3 separate regions of the Homo sapiens genome follow, and all the other regions are linked to region 1. The links are contacts of gene promoters, found by promoter capture Hi-C in blood cells and fetal thymus (Javierre and others, 2016). All regions are on one chromosome and are shown on one strand. The core of a region is centred on a gene start or on the middle of the fragment in contact, and the rest is flanking DNA. Distances in the headings are between cores, read along the strand shown. Region 1 holds the start of RABGEF1 (RAB guanine nucleotide exchange factor 1). Region 2 has its middle 7.3 kb from the start of KCTD7. Region 3 has its middle 18 kb from the start of KCTD7.

What was found. Contacts are between HindIII fragments. The CHiCAGO score rates a contact against its expected background, and 5 or more counts as called.
Region 2: a fragment that was not itself captured here is called in contact with the fragment with the promoter of RABGEF1 in region 1 in 3 of 17 cell types (activated CD4 T cells, non-activated CD4 T cells and naive CD4 T cells); the score reaches 6.2 in activated CD4 T cells.
Region 3: a fragment that was not itself captured here is called in contact with the fragment with the promoter of RABGEF1 in region 1 in 1 of 17 cell types (neutrophils); the score reaches 5.3 in neutrophils.

The regions. Positions count from the first base shown.
Region 1 is chr7:66,738,820-66,743,791 of GRCh38, reverse strand. RABGEF1 (RAB guanine nucleotide exchange factor 1) reads right to left here and starts at 3,059. Exons shown (of 9, transcript NM_014504.3): 1 at 3,000-3,059. RefSeq lists silencers at 2,836-2,975, 2,996-3,265 and enhancers at 2,716-3,382, 3,396-3,445. The HindIII fragment of the contact is 9,271 bases long and covers 1-4,972 here.
Region 2 is chr7:66,619,114-66,624,085 of GRCh38, reverse strand. No RefSeq gene overlaps it. Among named protein-coding and RNA genes, the nearest start is that of KCTD7, 7.3 kb to the left of the region's middle. The HindIII fragment of the contact is 2,428 bases long and covers 908-3,335 here.
Region 3 is chr7:66,644,163-66,649,134 of GRCh38, reverse strand. No RefSeq gene overlaps it. Among named protein-coding and RNA genes, the nearest start is that of KCTD7, 18 kb to the right of the region's middle. The HindIII fragment of the contact is 7,195 bases long and covers 1-4,972 here.

The DNA.
Region 1 (4,972 bases), core at 1,810-4,309:
TGGTGGCTCACACCTGTAATCCCAGCACTTTGGAATGCCGAGGAGGGCGGATCACGAGGTCAGGAGATTGAGACCATCCTGGCTGACACAGTGAAACCACATCTCTACTAAAAATAGAAAAAATTAGCCAGGCATGGTGGCGGGCATCTGTAGTCCCAGCTATTCAGGAGGCTGAGGCAGGAGAATGGCGTGAACCCAGGAGGGGGAGCTTGCAGTGAGCCGAGATCGCGCCACTGCACTCCAGCCTGGGCGACAGAGCCAGATTCCGTATCAAAAAAAGAAAAAAAAATTTAGCCAGGCAAGCTAAATTAGTAGGTGGCAGGCCTGTGGTCCCAGTTACTTGGGAGGCTGAGACAAGAGGATAGCTTAAGCATGGGTGGTGGAGGCTACAGTGAGCTGTGTTCCTGCCACTGCATTCCAGCCTGGGAGACAGGGAGAGAGAGAGAGCCTTTTTTTTTTTTTTAAATTTTTTTCTTTTTTTTGAGACGAGGTCTCGCTCTGTCGCCCAGGCTGGAGTGCATTGGTACAATCTTGGCTCACCACAACCTCCTAGAATTGCTAGGTTCAAGCAATTCTCCTACCTCAGCCTCCTGAGTAGCTAGCATTACGGCAGGCGCCATCACACCAAGCTAATTTTAGTGTTTTTAGTAGAGATGGGGTTTCACCATGTTGCTCAGGCTGGTCTCAAACTCCTGACCTCGTGATCCGCCCGCCTCGGCCTCCCAAAGTGCTGGGATTACAGGCGTGAGCCACCGCGCCTGGCCAGAGAGACCCATTTTAACCACACAAGGACCCAGCTAAAAAACTTCCCCTGGTTCTGTCACCATCAGAGGAAGCCTGAGCTCCTACATCTCTGTCCTGCACTTTTTCACTTTAGTAACGACCCTCCAGGCTCGGTAGCTGATGCCTGTAATTTCAGCACTTGGGACGCTTGAGGCAGGAAGATTGCTTGAGTGCAGGAGTTTGAGATCAGCCAGGGCAACACAGCAAGACAACATCTTTACAAAATATTTAAAAATCAGCTGGGTGTGGTGGCACGCATCTGCAGTCTTAGCTACTCGGGAGGCTGAGGTGGGAGGATCACTTCAGCACAGGCAGTTGAGACTTCAGTGACTCGTGATCGTGTCACTGTACTCCAGCCTGGGTGACAAAGTGAGACCCTCTCTCTCAATAAATAAATTAATAGGCACCTCCTTGTAGTTACTGGCCTCCTCTCCTTTGATTCCCCCCTCTCCCTCACTCCACCCTGTTAGTCTGAATGTTAGTCATTCTTCAAGACACATGCAGAAAGTATTCCCTGATCCCTTCCAGGCTCCACACCCAACAGCATGGCCTAAATGCCCGGCTCCTTCCTCGGTGCTCCATCTTAGCTCACATTCCTTACCACACTGTTTTGAAAGTATCTTGACTGTCCCTTCTCCTCAACTGGCTAACTTCTAGAGAGCAGAAACATGACTGCTTGGAAGGTCATTAAAAATTCAAATCCTGAACATTTCTTAATCCTGCGGATATGAATCAGTGACTCTTAAAAGCAAAATGTTATTTATCATTAAATATTAACAATATAATCACATTTTCTTGCATCTCTGGCAAGTTTCTTGGTACAACAATTTTAAGGAACAGACTCTTAGTTTTTTTTTTGAGATAGAGTCTAGCTCTGTCGCCCAGGCTGGAGTGCAGTGGCACGATTTCGGCTCACTGCAACCTCCGCCTCCCGGGTTCATGCCATTCTCCTGCCTCAGCCTCCAGAGTAGCTGGGACTACAGGTGCCCGCCACGATGCCCGGCAAATTTTCTTTTTCTTTTTTTTTTTTATTTGTAGTAGAGACGGGGTTTCACCGTGTTAGGGAGGATGGTCTCAAGCTCCTGACGTCATGATCCGCCTGCCTTGGCCTTCCAAATGCTGGGATTACAGACGTGAGCCACCGCACCCGGCCGGAACACACTCTTTAACAGCAGTTAAAGCCGCGCAATGGCTCACGCCTATAATCCCAACACTCTGGGAGGCCGAGGCGGGAGGATCACTTAAGGCCAGGAGTTTCACACCTGCCTGGGCAACACTGTGAGATCCCATGTCGAAAAAAATAATAAATAAAAACAAAGCAGTTCTAGGTTTAGAGGGGGGAAAGCAGCTCTCCAGGCCAAAAACCAACTCCCAAGGTGCTCCGGTAAACTCGTCCTGGGAAAATTTCCTACCTAATCTCAAAGGCAAAACGAGCCCACGGGCGCCCACGACACATTTCCCAACCGCAAGGATTGGTCACCCGCGCTGAGACACCGCCAGCTGCCTATGACCTAGCCTCCAAAGCGGCAGAGTCCCTCCCTCTCTCTCCCTAAACTGCCGTGATGGGCATCCCTCGGCTCTCCTCCCAGACGGTTCGGAAGCAGGGACTTCTGCTCCTAACCCCGGCCCCGCAGCCTCGCCCTCAGCCACGGGGTGGAAGTCAGGACCACAGGCTTCAAATCCCCTCCCAACTCCGGGACACTTCTGCCCCCTAGGGTGACGTGGGATCAAGTCCCCGCGCCCCTGCCGCGGCCGGGGGCTGTGGTCTGGGTCCGAGCGTCCCATACCAGCGCTTTCCGGGGAGGTTGTGGGAGGGGCCCCGTGCGACCACAGACGCTGCTTCGGAGCCAGCGGCCTGGACGGAAGGTGGGAGCCGGGGCGAGGGGAGCCGCCGGAGAGGGAGGCGGCCAGGAAATGCTCCGCGTCAGGCCGTCGGGGCTCGGCTGGCGCTGGAGATCCCGGCAACTAGCGTCTGGGACGGAGAGGCCGCACTCTGAGGATTAAGGGAGCCGAGGGCGGCCTGGAACGGGGAAGGCGGCGCTGACGGAGACGGAATGTGGGACGAAGGACAGCGGGAGGCACCGACGCGCAACTGCCCCAGCCGCGCGGATGGCACGGACCGACCGCCCTGCCACCCCCAGCCCGAGACGCCCCGCCGCCCCGCTCCTGTAGCTGAGAGCCGAGCAGCTCTCAGCCCCAGTCCGTCCGCTCCGTACCTCGCCCGCGTCTCCGCCGGCGTCCAAACCACCGCTCGCCCGCTTCGCCCGGGTAGGTCTGGGCTCCGCGGCCAGCTCCCGCCTCACACCCACCCTCCTGCTCGCCCCGCCCCCGGCACCGCCAGCGAACGCACGTTACGCGCGGCGCGTAAACGTCACTTCCGGGGCCTTTGACTCTGGACGGGAGGAAGTGCGAGTGGATCCAAAGGGTCGAGCGGAGTGGGGTACCGCCCTGACGCCCAAGAGCAAATGGAAGAGGGCGGCCTCCGGGGTAAAGGTGGGGCGCTGGGGAGCCCCGGAGAAACCGGCGTTTCCTAGTCTGTCGCTCAGTCCCTGCTTCCGGCTTCCGACGCGCAACAGCTGGAGGGCGACGCTGGCTCCGCGGCGACTCCTGGGGCTGCGGCCGCGGTGGTAGCGCGAATGGGAGGTGGAGCGGAGCTACTGCGCCGAGGGACGCTTCAGAAACTCTGTTTCAGTCCTTCGCGGATCCTAGGATGTGACAGGTGTTCGAGTTAAAAGGTCTTAAGGCGATCGGTTGATCCAAAAGCAGCTGAATCTTTAGGAGGCCCAGGCAGGAGGATCGCTTGAGTCCAGGAGTTCGAGACCAGCCTGGGCCACAGAGCAAGGTCACCATCTCTACAAAAGAAATTTTACAAATCAGCCGGACATGATGGCGGGCACCTGTGGTCCCAACTACCAGGGAGGCTGAGGTGGGAGGATCGCTTGATAGCCCAGGAAGTTGACGGTGCAGAGATCCCTCCACTGAACTCCAGGCCGGGTGACAGCAGAGCGAGATCCTGTCTCAAAAAAAACATAACCGACATCCAGAAGTGAAATAAATTAGCCAGTGTCACAAAGTATTAATGGTTGAGTCACAAATTGAATCCTGTTTACCTGATTCTTTACGTGATTCCCATGTAAGGAATGTTAAAAACAGTAAATACTAATTCCTCTGCGTCCTGAATGCCATGTATGGCGTAACGTGCAGTCACAGCAAGAAAAAAAAGAAAATACTATGCTGTGGCTGTGAGATAGACCTGGGTTAAAATCCCAGCTTTGCTAATTGTCGCTGTAGTGTTCTTGGACAGGTTGCGTAATTTTTCAGTCTATTTTTTTTTTTTTTTTTTTTTTTTTTGAGACTCTCACTCTGTCGCCCACACTGGAGTTCAGTCGTGCGATCTCGGCTTACTGCAACCTCCGCCTCCTAGGTTCAAGCGATTCTCCCACCTCAGCCACCCAAGTAGCTGGAATTACAGGCACCCGCCACCACGCCCAGCTCATATTTTTTTTTTTGTATTTTTAGTCGAGACAGGGTTTCACCATGTTGGCCAGGCTGGTTTTGAATCCTGACCTCAAGTGATCCGCCCACCTTGGCTTCCCAAAGTGCTAGGATTATAGGTGTGAGCTACTGCGCCCGGCCCGAGTTTCTCAGTCTTTATTCATTATTGGTAAAGTAGGGATTAACTGATTCGTTTCTCAGATTCTTCCTAAGTGCCTAATGTGTGCTACGCTGAGGGTACAACAGAGTATAAAACAAAAGTAAGGCCAGGCGCAGTGGCTCACGCCTGTAATCCTAGCACTTTGGGAAGCCGAGGCGGGCAGATCACCTGAGGTCGGGAGTTCAAGACCAGCCTGACCAACATGGAGAAACCCTGTCTCTACTAAAAATACAAAATTAGCCAGGCATGGTGGCACATGCCTGCAATCCCAGCAACTTGGGAGGCTGAGGCAGGAGAATCACTTGAGCCCGGGAAGCGGAGGTTGCAGTGAGCTGAGATTGCGCCATTGCACTCCAGCTTGGGCAACGAGTGAAACTCCTCCTCAAAAAACAAAACAAAACAAAAAAACACAAAGTACCTGTGCTGAGGAGGTGGAGGAGGGAATAAACAATAATTATTTACAGTAGTACCTTGGATGGTGGTAATTGCTATTACCAAAAGACAGAATAACATTTACTTTAAAGCTCTTAACTG
Region 2 (4,972 bases), core at 872-3,371, 120 kb after region 1:
CATGGTGAAACCTGGTCTCTAATAAAAATACAAAAATCAAAAATTAGCCAGGTGTGGTGGTGACTGCCTGTAGTTCCAGCTACTCAAGGGGCTGAGGCAGGACCGTCACTTGGACCAGGAAGGTGGCGGTTGCAGTGAGCTGAGATCATGCCATTGCACTCCAGACTGGGTGACAGAGTGAGACCCCGTCTCAAGAAAAAAAAAAGAAAAGAAAAAAGTTTTTTTGCCAGCAGCCTCCCCTGGCATAAAAGCTTGGCTAAGGGCCTACTGCTCTCAACTCCCCCTCAGTCGCTGATACACCCCCATTCATTACCCACTGTTATTCCTTAGCTTGGACTTTTCTTCCAATTGTCCACTTCGTAAATGTGGCCAATAGTTCAGATTGGCTTTCTCATCTCTTTTTTTTTTTGAGACACAGTGTCACTTTGTTGTCCATGCTGGAGTATAGTGGTGTAATCTCGACTCACTGCAACCTCTGCCTCCCTGGTTGAAGGGATTCTCCTGCCTCAGCCTCTCGAATAGCTGGAATTACATGCGCACACCACCACGCCTGGCTAAATTTTTTTTGTATTTTAATGGAGACGGGGTTTTACCATGTTGGCCAGGCTGGTCTCCAACTCCTGATCTCAAGTGATCCACCTGCCTCGGCCTCCCAAAGTACTGGGATTACAGGTGTGAGCCACCTCTCCCAGCCCTCTCATCTCTTTTCTGGCCTCCCTAAAGTGTGCCTCACTTGAATGCTGGAAGCTTGAAATCTAAAAGTTACTTTTTCCCAGAGTACCTTGTGTTCTGGGTTCTGCAGGTGACCCAGCCTTCACCAAGCGGATCAATACCCTGGAGATTTGGAGGGCAAATGTGAACACCGGATTGAAGACCATATACTTTTTGCTCTTTCTGCAGGCAAGCTTGGACACGAATATGTTAAGACTTTTCTTTTTTGCTGTGGCTGTAGCAGAGGTCCCAGTGTTGGTCTCCAGCTTTATGGATGTCAAAAGACTGGATGGATGGATGGGTGCCATGTGGCTCATGCCTGTAACCCCAGCACTTTGGGAGGCCAAAGCGGGCGGATCACCTGAGGTCAGGAGTTCGAGACCAGCCTGGCCAACATGGCGAAACCTCGTCTCTACTAAAAATACAAAAATTACCTGAGCATGGTGGTGGGTGCCTGTAATCCTAACTATTCAGGAGGCTGAGGCTGGATAATTGCTTGGACCTGAGAGGCAGAGGTTGCAGTGAGTGGAGATCGCACCACTGCACTTCCTGGGTGACAAAGCAAGACTCTGTCTCTAAAAAAAAAAAAAAAAAAAAAGACAGATGGAAGCATCCATTTTGCTGTTCTATTCATCTCTGTAATATCTCCGCAGTCTAGTACAATGCCTGGCGCATAGTAGAAACTCAATAAATTGATATGTGAAAGAAGTTTGTGCTATGATCAAGCTCAAATAGTTACCAATGACCATAGATTTTTTTCTCATCTATTTCATTAGTGCTATTAGCATATAGAGGAATAAATTGCTGTTATTAATATCATAGAGGTAGGGAATCCCAGGATACTATAATGCTGGGCTGGTGGGAAGGGTCTTAAGTGGTGAGCGTCCTGGGAGTATTAACCAGAGCAAAGCATTCAGGGAGGGCTCTTTGGTTTGGGATGCACGTTAGTCACCATAGATATCTTCACTGTGCACGATGACACAGGTCCTGAAGTGCTCTCAACTCAAGCTCTTTACATGTAGGCTTCTTTTCCTTTTGTTGTTTTTTTAAAAACAGAGTCTCACTCTGTTGCCCAGGCTGGAGTGCAGTGGTGTGATCATAGCTCACTGCAGCCTCAAACTCCTGGGCTCAAGTGATCCTCCCATTTTAGCCTCCCGAGGAGCTAGGTCTTGCAATGCTTTTTCATACAATGTGTGGAATTTACAGATAACACAAGTAGTTATTATTTTTTTTAATTCCTAGGGCCGGATGGTGGTGCCAAGGTTGTCTGGCTACTTATCTTCTGTTTCTTTCCAACTTTTTGCTTTCTCTCTTTCCTCCCGTTTTGTGAACTAGGCAATGTCGTGGGAGAAGGGCAGCAGGAGTAGTAGTGGGCTCCTTCCTTATCTTTTTTTTTTTTTTTTTTTGAGACGGAGTCTCGCTCTGTCGCCCAGGCTGGAGTGCAGTGACGCGATTTCGGCTCACTTCAAACTCCGCCTCCCGGGTTCACGCCATTCTCCTGCCTGAGCCTCCTGAATAGCTGGGACCACAGGCGCCCGCCATCATGACCGGCTAATTTTTTTTGTATTTTTAGTAGAGACGGGGTTTCACCATATTAGCCAGGATGGTCTCGATCTCCTGACCTCGTGATCCGCCCGCCTCAGCCTCCCGCCCAGCCTCCTTCCTTATCCTGACCTTGTGATCCATCCGCCTTGGCCTCCCAAAGTACTGGGATTACAGGCATGAGCCACCGCACCCAGCCTTTTCTTTTTCCTTTCTTTTTCTTTCCTTTTTTTTTTTTTTTTTTTTTTTTTGAGACAGAGTCTCACTCTGTCGCCCAGGCTGGAGTGCAGTGGCACAATCTCAGCTCACTGCAACCTCCGCCCTCCGAGTTCAAGTGATTCTCCTGCCTCAGCCTCCCAAGTAGCTGGGATTACAGGCGCCTGCCACCGTACCCAGCTAATTTTTTGTATTTTTTGGTAGAGATGGGGTTTCACCATCTTGGCCAGGCTAGTCTTGAACTCCTTACCTCGTGATCCACTCGCCTCAGACTCCCAAAGTGCTGGGATTACTGGCGTGAGCCACCGCGCCCGGTCTTTGTTTTCCTTTTTTTTTTTGTTTTTGTTTTTTGAGACAAGGTCTCACTCTGTTACCCAGGCTGGAGTGCAGTGGTGTGAACATGGCTCACTGCAGGCACGACCTCCCAAGCTCAAGTGATTCCCCCACATCAGCCTCCCAAGTAGCTGGGATTACCGGAGTGCACCACCATGTTCTGCTGATTTTTAAAATTTTTCATAGAGTTGGAGTCTCACTACGTTGCCCAGGCTCGTCTTTTTTTCTTTGAGACAGGGTCTCGCTCTGTTGCCCAGGCTGGAGTGCAGTGGTGTGATCATAGCTCACTGCAGCCTCAAACTCCTGGGCTCAAGTGATCCTCCTATTTTAGCCTCACGAGGACCTAGGTCTATAGGCATGCACCACCATGCCCAGACAATTTTTAAAGTTTTAAAATTTTGTGTAGAGACAGGGTCCCACTATGGTGCTGAGGCTGGTCTCGAACTTCTGGCCTTAAGTGATCCTTTTGTCCTAACCTTCCAAAGTGCTGGGAATACAGGCATAAGCCACCATGCCCAGCCTACATGTAAGCTTTTGATGAATTCTGTTTTCTATTTTTATTTATTTTATTTAATAAAATTATTAATATAATTATATTGAAGTGGCTCATGCCTGTAATCTCAACACTTTGTGAGGCCGAAGGAGGTGGATTGCAAGGTCACTAGTTCGAGACCAGCCTGGCCAACATGGTGAACCCGTCTCTACTACAAAAAAATACAAAAAATTAGCCAGGCGTGGTGGCATGAACCTGTAGTCCCAGCTACTCAGGAGGCTGAGGCAGGAGAATCGCTTGAACTCGGGAGGCAGAGGTTGCAATGAGCTGAGATGGCGCCACTGCACTCCGGCCTGGGTGACAGAGTGAGACTTCATATCAAAAAAAAGAAGAAGCAGGGTGCCGTGGCTCATGCTTGTAATCCCAGCACTTTGGGAGGCCAAGGTGGGCAGATCATGAGGTCAGGAGATCAAGACCATCCTGGTTAACATGGTGAAACACCCGTCTCTACCAAAAATACAAAAAATTAGCCGGGCGTGGTGGCGGGCGCCTGTAGTCCCAGCTACTCCGTAGGCTGAGGCAGGAGAATGGCGTGAATCTGGGAGGTGGAGCTTGCAGTGAGCCGAGATCGTGCCACTGCACTCCAGCCTGGGTGACAGAGCGAGACTCCGTCTCAAAAAAAAAAAAAAGAAAGAAAGAAAATAGTGTTCCTTGAAGTTAGTTTGAGAATCCATAGTTGTCTTGCATAATATTGCATGTTGCTTTTTCATCATTATGTTTCTTTCTCATTTATTTATTTATTTATTTATTTTTGGAGACAGGATCTCCCGCTGTCCTCCAGGCTGGAGTACAGTGGCACCATCATGTGGGGAAAAGAAAGAGAGATCAGACTGTTATTGTGTCTATGTAGAAAGAAGTAGACATAAGAGACTCCATTTTGTTCTGTACTAAGAAAAATTCTTTTGCCTTGAGATGCTGTTAATCTGTAACCCTACCCCCAACCCTGAGCTCCCAGAAACATGTGCTCTGTCAACTCAAGGTTTAATGGATTAAGGGCTATGCAGGATGTGCTTTGTTAAACAAATGCTTGAAGGCAGCATTCTTGTTAAAAGTCATCACCACTCCCTACTCTCTTGTACCCAGGGACACAAAACACTGCAGAAGGCCGCAGGGACCTCTGCCTAGGAAAGCTAGGTATTGTCCAAGGTTTCTCCCCATGTGATAGTCTGAAATATGGCCTCATGGGAAGGGAAAGACCTGACCGCCCCCCAGCCCAACACCCATAAAGGGTCGGTGCTGAGGAGGATTAGTAAAAGAGGAAGGCCTCTTTGCAGTTGAGATAAGAGGAAGGCATCTATCTCCTGCTCGTCCCTGGGGCAATGGAATGTGTTGATGTAAAACCTGATTGTATATTCCATCTACTGAGATAGGAGAAAACCACCTTAGGGTTGGAGGTGAGACATACTGGAAGCAATACTGCTCTTTAAGGCGTTGAGATGTTTATGTATATGCACATCAAAAGCGCAGCACTTTTTTCTTTACCTTGTTTATGATGCAGAGACATTTGTTCACATGTTTTCCTGCTGACCTTCTCTCCACTATTACCCTATTGTCCTGCCACATCCCCCTCTGCGAGAAACGCCAGATAATGATCAATAAATACTAAGGGAACTCAGA
Region 3 (4,972 bases), core at 1,648-4,147, 94 kb after region 1:
CCTCCTGAGTAGCTGGGACTACAGGCATGTACCACCACACCCAGCCAATTATTATTATTATTATTATTTCTTGAAGAGACAGGATTTCGCCATGTTGCTCAGGCTGGTCTGGAACTCCTGTGCTCAAGCAATCTGCCCACCTCAGCCTTCCAAAGTGCTAGGATTACAAGTGTGAGCCCCTGCACCCACCCCAATGTGTAGGCTGGTCTTACATGTCAGATACAAGGTTCCAAGAATGCCATGTTATTTTGAATGGGTGACACGTGAATGCACATGGGATGCATTTGGGCAGAGCAACAGCGCCTCAGCTCATCTTCCTCTCTTGGGTGGGACATCAGGAATAGTCCCCGCTGGTGTCCACTTTGGGAAGCTCTGGGATTCAGCTGGCCTCTGCTGCACATGGGTACCTAACTGCAACTTGCAGTGGCTCTTCTCAGTTAGGCATAAGAGCTGGAATTTCTGTTAATCTCTCAATATTTGCATGTGTAATGAAGTGTATTCTGAAGCCAAAATATTTGAAAAAGAATGGCCCCCCCTTATTGTGTGGGTCAAAATCTCAGGTTCACCTTGGCTGCTCCAGGCTACTGTGGATAGATATCCCTGAAGGGGTTCTTTCAAAAGGTACCTCTAGATCTTGAAACTGTTAATTATATTGCAACTGTCACACCTACAAGGATTGCTGGCCTCAGTCAACCCCTCATCATGGAGCTGTAGAAACAAGGGAGAGGCTGCCCCTGCTCATGGCCCTCTCTATAGCCTTACTGAGGGGTTCAAGTGTGTCTTGGGTAAGGCAGAATAGGAGAAAAGCTATAACAGGGTTTTCAGCTATTGGAATTCTGGATCCTTTGCCAGGGATCGGGTAAAACCATGTCCTAAAAAGACAGAATGATTAGGTAAAAAACAGGGTCACAAATGGCCAGTACTGCTTACAAACCCCAGAAATCCTGGGACACGGTGAGAGCCTTCCACTCTGGAAACATCACTTGATACCTTGGTTGGACTGTCTGGAAATTCTACCTTTGGATCTCAATCTACAAATCTGGGTTGTCCCAGGGGTGTTGTTGCCATAAAAGGGTCAGAATTGCCATGCAAACAGAGAACAGTGCTGACAGGTGTTCAAAATCAAGACGTAAACCCCATCTCAATGGAATCCTCTAGCCCATGAAGTGTTGGAATACTCCTGCAGGCAACTGGACAGGGGATTTCTTCTCATTGTTCTGTCTCTCTGGACCAATGGGAGTTTCCAAATACAGCCGCCTTTGAAGAATAAAATTAGATAATTGGGTGGAATATCCCCTGAATATGTCTGGAAGCAATTACATTCTGCCTTGACTCCTGGGAGTGCTGAGTAAATAATGCCACCCTCATTTCATCTAATAGCGATGTGGTCAGCTCATTAGTTAAGTTCATATTTTTGTTAAGAAACTCATGGTGAACTCGGTTTCCAAGCAAAATATTTATTTATTTTACTTTTTATTTTAGAGACAGGGTCTTGTTCTGTCACTGAGGCTGGACTGCAGTAGTGCAATCACGGCTCATTGCAACCTCAACCTCATGGGCTCAAGTGAACCTCCCACCTCAGGCTCCCAAGTATCTGGGACTGCAGGTGCACACCACCCTGCCTGGCTTATGTTTTTGAATTTTGTTTTTTTGGACATAGGATCTTGCTATGTCACCCAGGCTGGTCCTGGACTCCTGGCCTCAGGCAATCCTCTTGCCTCTGCCTCTCAAAGTGCTATAGGATTACAGGTGTGAACCACCATGCCTGGCCAGGCAAAATAGATTCTTCCTTTCTGGTGCAGAAGATGAAACTAGTGTGATGAAACTAGTGTGTCTGCTCAGTGTGATCCTGCAGGCATCCTCTGCAGCTGTTGTGGAGGTAGATACAGAGTTTCCAGGATGTGTATCCACCTTACCTTAACTTAGGTGGATACAGAGCCTGCAGGATCCTATGCTGCTGCTATGAAGACTGAAAATGCTCTCCAGTTCCTAGCAGGCCAGATGTAAAAGCTGACTTGGAAAGCAAGAGACATCAGTGCTGAGAGCACCTACCTGCCTGAGAACAAGAAGCAGACAGTCCTGGGTATGGCATCACTGTCATGGTTGGCTAACAGGTACCAGATAAGGCATGGCCAGAAGTGGCCAACTAGCTTTTAAATATCAAAGACAGGACAGTTACAAACAGAGGGGAGAGGTGGAGGAGGACATGGTGAGAGGGACAGTAAACACCTGCAACGTGTGCACACACGGGTGGGCCCTTGGGGCAGTCAGCTGAGGTACAGTTGGTGATGAAGATGCTATGTTGAGAAACTGGATACCCAAGGCATTTATAAAAGTTCACAAAGACTGTAGGGACTTAAGCCTACTCATGATACCACCCTGACCTCTTTACAAAAATACTGGAGATACAAAGATTTCTTCAACTGGACTCTGAACCTGTAAGTTTCTTTTAATGAGGGTCAAGCTCCAAGTTTTGTGTTGCTATGTGATTCTATTTCTTGATTTTAATAATGACTGAGAAAAGTATGGATACCTCCATTCCAAAAATCTACTGGGGCTGGGCCATCTGCCAGGATCATATGATACGGGGAAGAAATGAGGGTCTGTATTACATTAAGAGAATCCTGGCCAAGTGCGATGGGTCACGCCTGTAATCCCAGCACTTTGGGAGGCTGAGGTGGGTGGATCACAAGGTCAGGAGTTCAAGACTAGCCTGGCCAAGATGGTGAAACTCCATCTCTACTAAAAATACAAAAATTATCCGGGTGTGGTAGCGAGCACCTGTAATCCCAGCTACTTGGGAGGCTGAGGCAGGGAATTGCTTGAACCCGGGATGCGGGGGTTGCAGTCAGCTGAGACTGCACCACTGCATTCTAGCCTGGGCAGCAGAATGAGACTCCGTCTCAAAAAAAAAAAAAAAAAAAAAAAAAGAGAATCCTCAGAAGTCATGGTTTGTTGAGGTGTGAATAAGGTTGACATAGAGGCCAGAGGTGGCTAGAAAAGGTACATCATAATCTGATGACAGGCCCCTGTTACGGAGTATTTCTGGATGGTTCATGGTTCAGTCTTTCCCACAGTTGACTGGATCTTCTCCTGGTGTACAACAGCTCTGTGTCCACCTGGTGTCAAGTGGTTGGAGAAGGGGGATACCTAGGATTTCCAGATCATGTCATTCCTCAGGAAAAACAAGTGTGTGAGAGAAGAAGTCCTTTGCAGTCCAGGAATTGAACTGCCCTCTTCCTAAGGCTGCTCTGTTTATTATTTCATGTGTGTGTGTGTGTGTGGTGTGGTGGAGGGTCAGGGGTACACTTTGGAAGAAGACATAAAATTCTGTCCTTTGAATATACCTAGATAATGAACATCTATGAATTTTATAGTAATACTGTCACTCTTACTTTGCATTTAGATTTTAGAAGCAGGTATTCATCTGAGAAAAAATGAGGTACCTAAGTTCACAGCTAATAAGATCACTGTAGACATGACTGGGGAAGGGAAAAGAAAAGCACCTAACTATTCTTTCTCAAAACAAAAACTACTAGGCTCGGTGTGGTGGTGGCTCATGCCTGTACTCCCAGCACTTTGGGAGGCCAAGGCGGGTACATCACCTGAGGTCAGGAGTTTGAGACCAGTCTGGCCAATATGGTGAAACCCCATCTCTACTAAAAATACAAAAATTAGCCAGGCTTGGTGGCGCGTCTGTAATCCCAGCTACTTGGGAGGCTGACGAAGGAGGATTGCTTGAACCCAGCTGGTGGAGGATGTAGTGAGCTGAGATTGCACCACTACACTGCAGCCTGGGCAACAGAGCAAGACTGTCTCAAAAAAAAAAAAAAGAAAGAAAGAAAGAAAGTTTAAAATTATGTTTAAAAAACAGAGAAATTAAGCTAAAGTACATGATAGGAAAAACAATGTGGTAAGGAATTAAAAGAAAGCTAAAGGTAAGTAAATAAAAGCTAAGGGAACAGGCTATAAGTTCAACAAACCAAAATTAAGTAGTGAAGAGGTCATCTACACAAGAATGAAGACGGGACACTTGGCAGTATAGAGATCTAAGTCCAAGGGCCATGAGTCCCAAGCCAGGCACATGGCATCCCCTGAACTACACTAAGGAGTCTCCCATTCTGTTATGCTTTTGATGTTGGAAGTAGGCTATCCAGCTTGTCTATGCAGGGATACCTGCAAGGCTTCAGGAGTGTCATTAACTCAGGTGGTTCCAGATCATCCCACCCTTGGGGTCTAGCCAAGGAGCCATGACTCACCTACTCTGTCATACTCCATACATCATCCTGTGAACAGGGCCTCCTTCACCTAGCGGATATGTGTCCCTCACTAAGAAGGTCAGTAAATCGGGAGCCCCATCTACCCCCTTAACACAGGGGCTACATAAGGACTACACATTTGATATGGTTTGGCTCTGTGTCCCCACCCAAATCTCATGTTGAACTGTAATCCCCACTTGTCAGGGGAGGGACCTGGAGGGAGGTGATTGGATCATGGAGGTAGATTTCCCCTATGCTGTTCTTGTGATAGTGAGTTTTCACGAGCTCTGATGGTTTAAAAGTGTAGCATTTCCCCACTCTTTTTTTATTTTTGTGGGATGGAGTCTCACTCTGTTTCCAGGCTGGAGTGCAGTGGCATGATCTCGGCTTATTGCAACCTCTGCCTCCTGAGTTCAAGTGATTCTCCTGCCTCAGCCTCCCGAGTAGCTGGGACTACAGGTGCACGCCACCATGCCCAGCTAATTTTTTTGTATTTTGTTTTTTAATAGAGATGGGGTTTCACCATGTTGGCCAGGATGGTCTCAATCTCTTGACCTCGTGATCTGCCTGCCTCGGCCTCCCAAAGTGCTGGGATTATACAGGCATGAGCCACCATGCCTGGCCTCCCCATTCTCTCTCTCTCCTGCCTCCATATAAGATGTGCCTTGCTTCTGAACTTCGCCTTCTGCCATGATTATAAGTTTCCTGAGGCC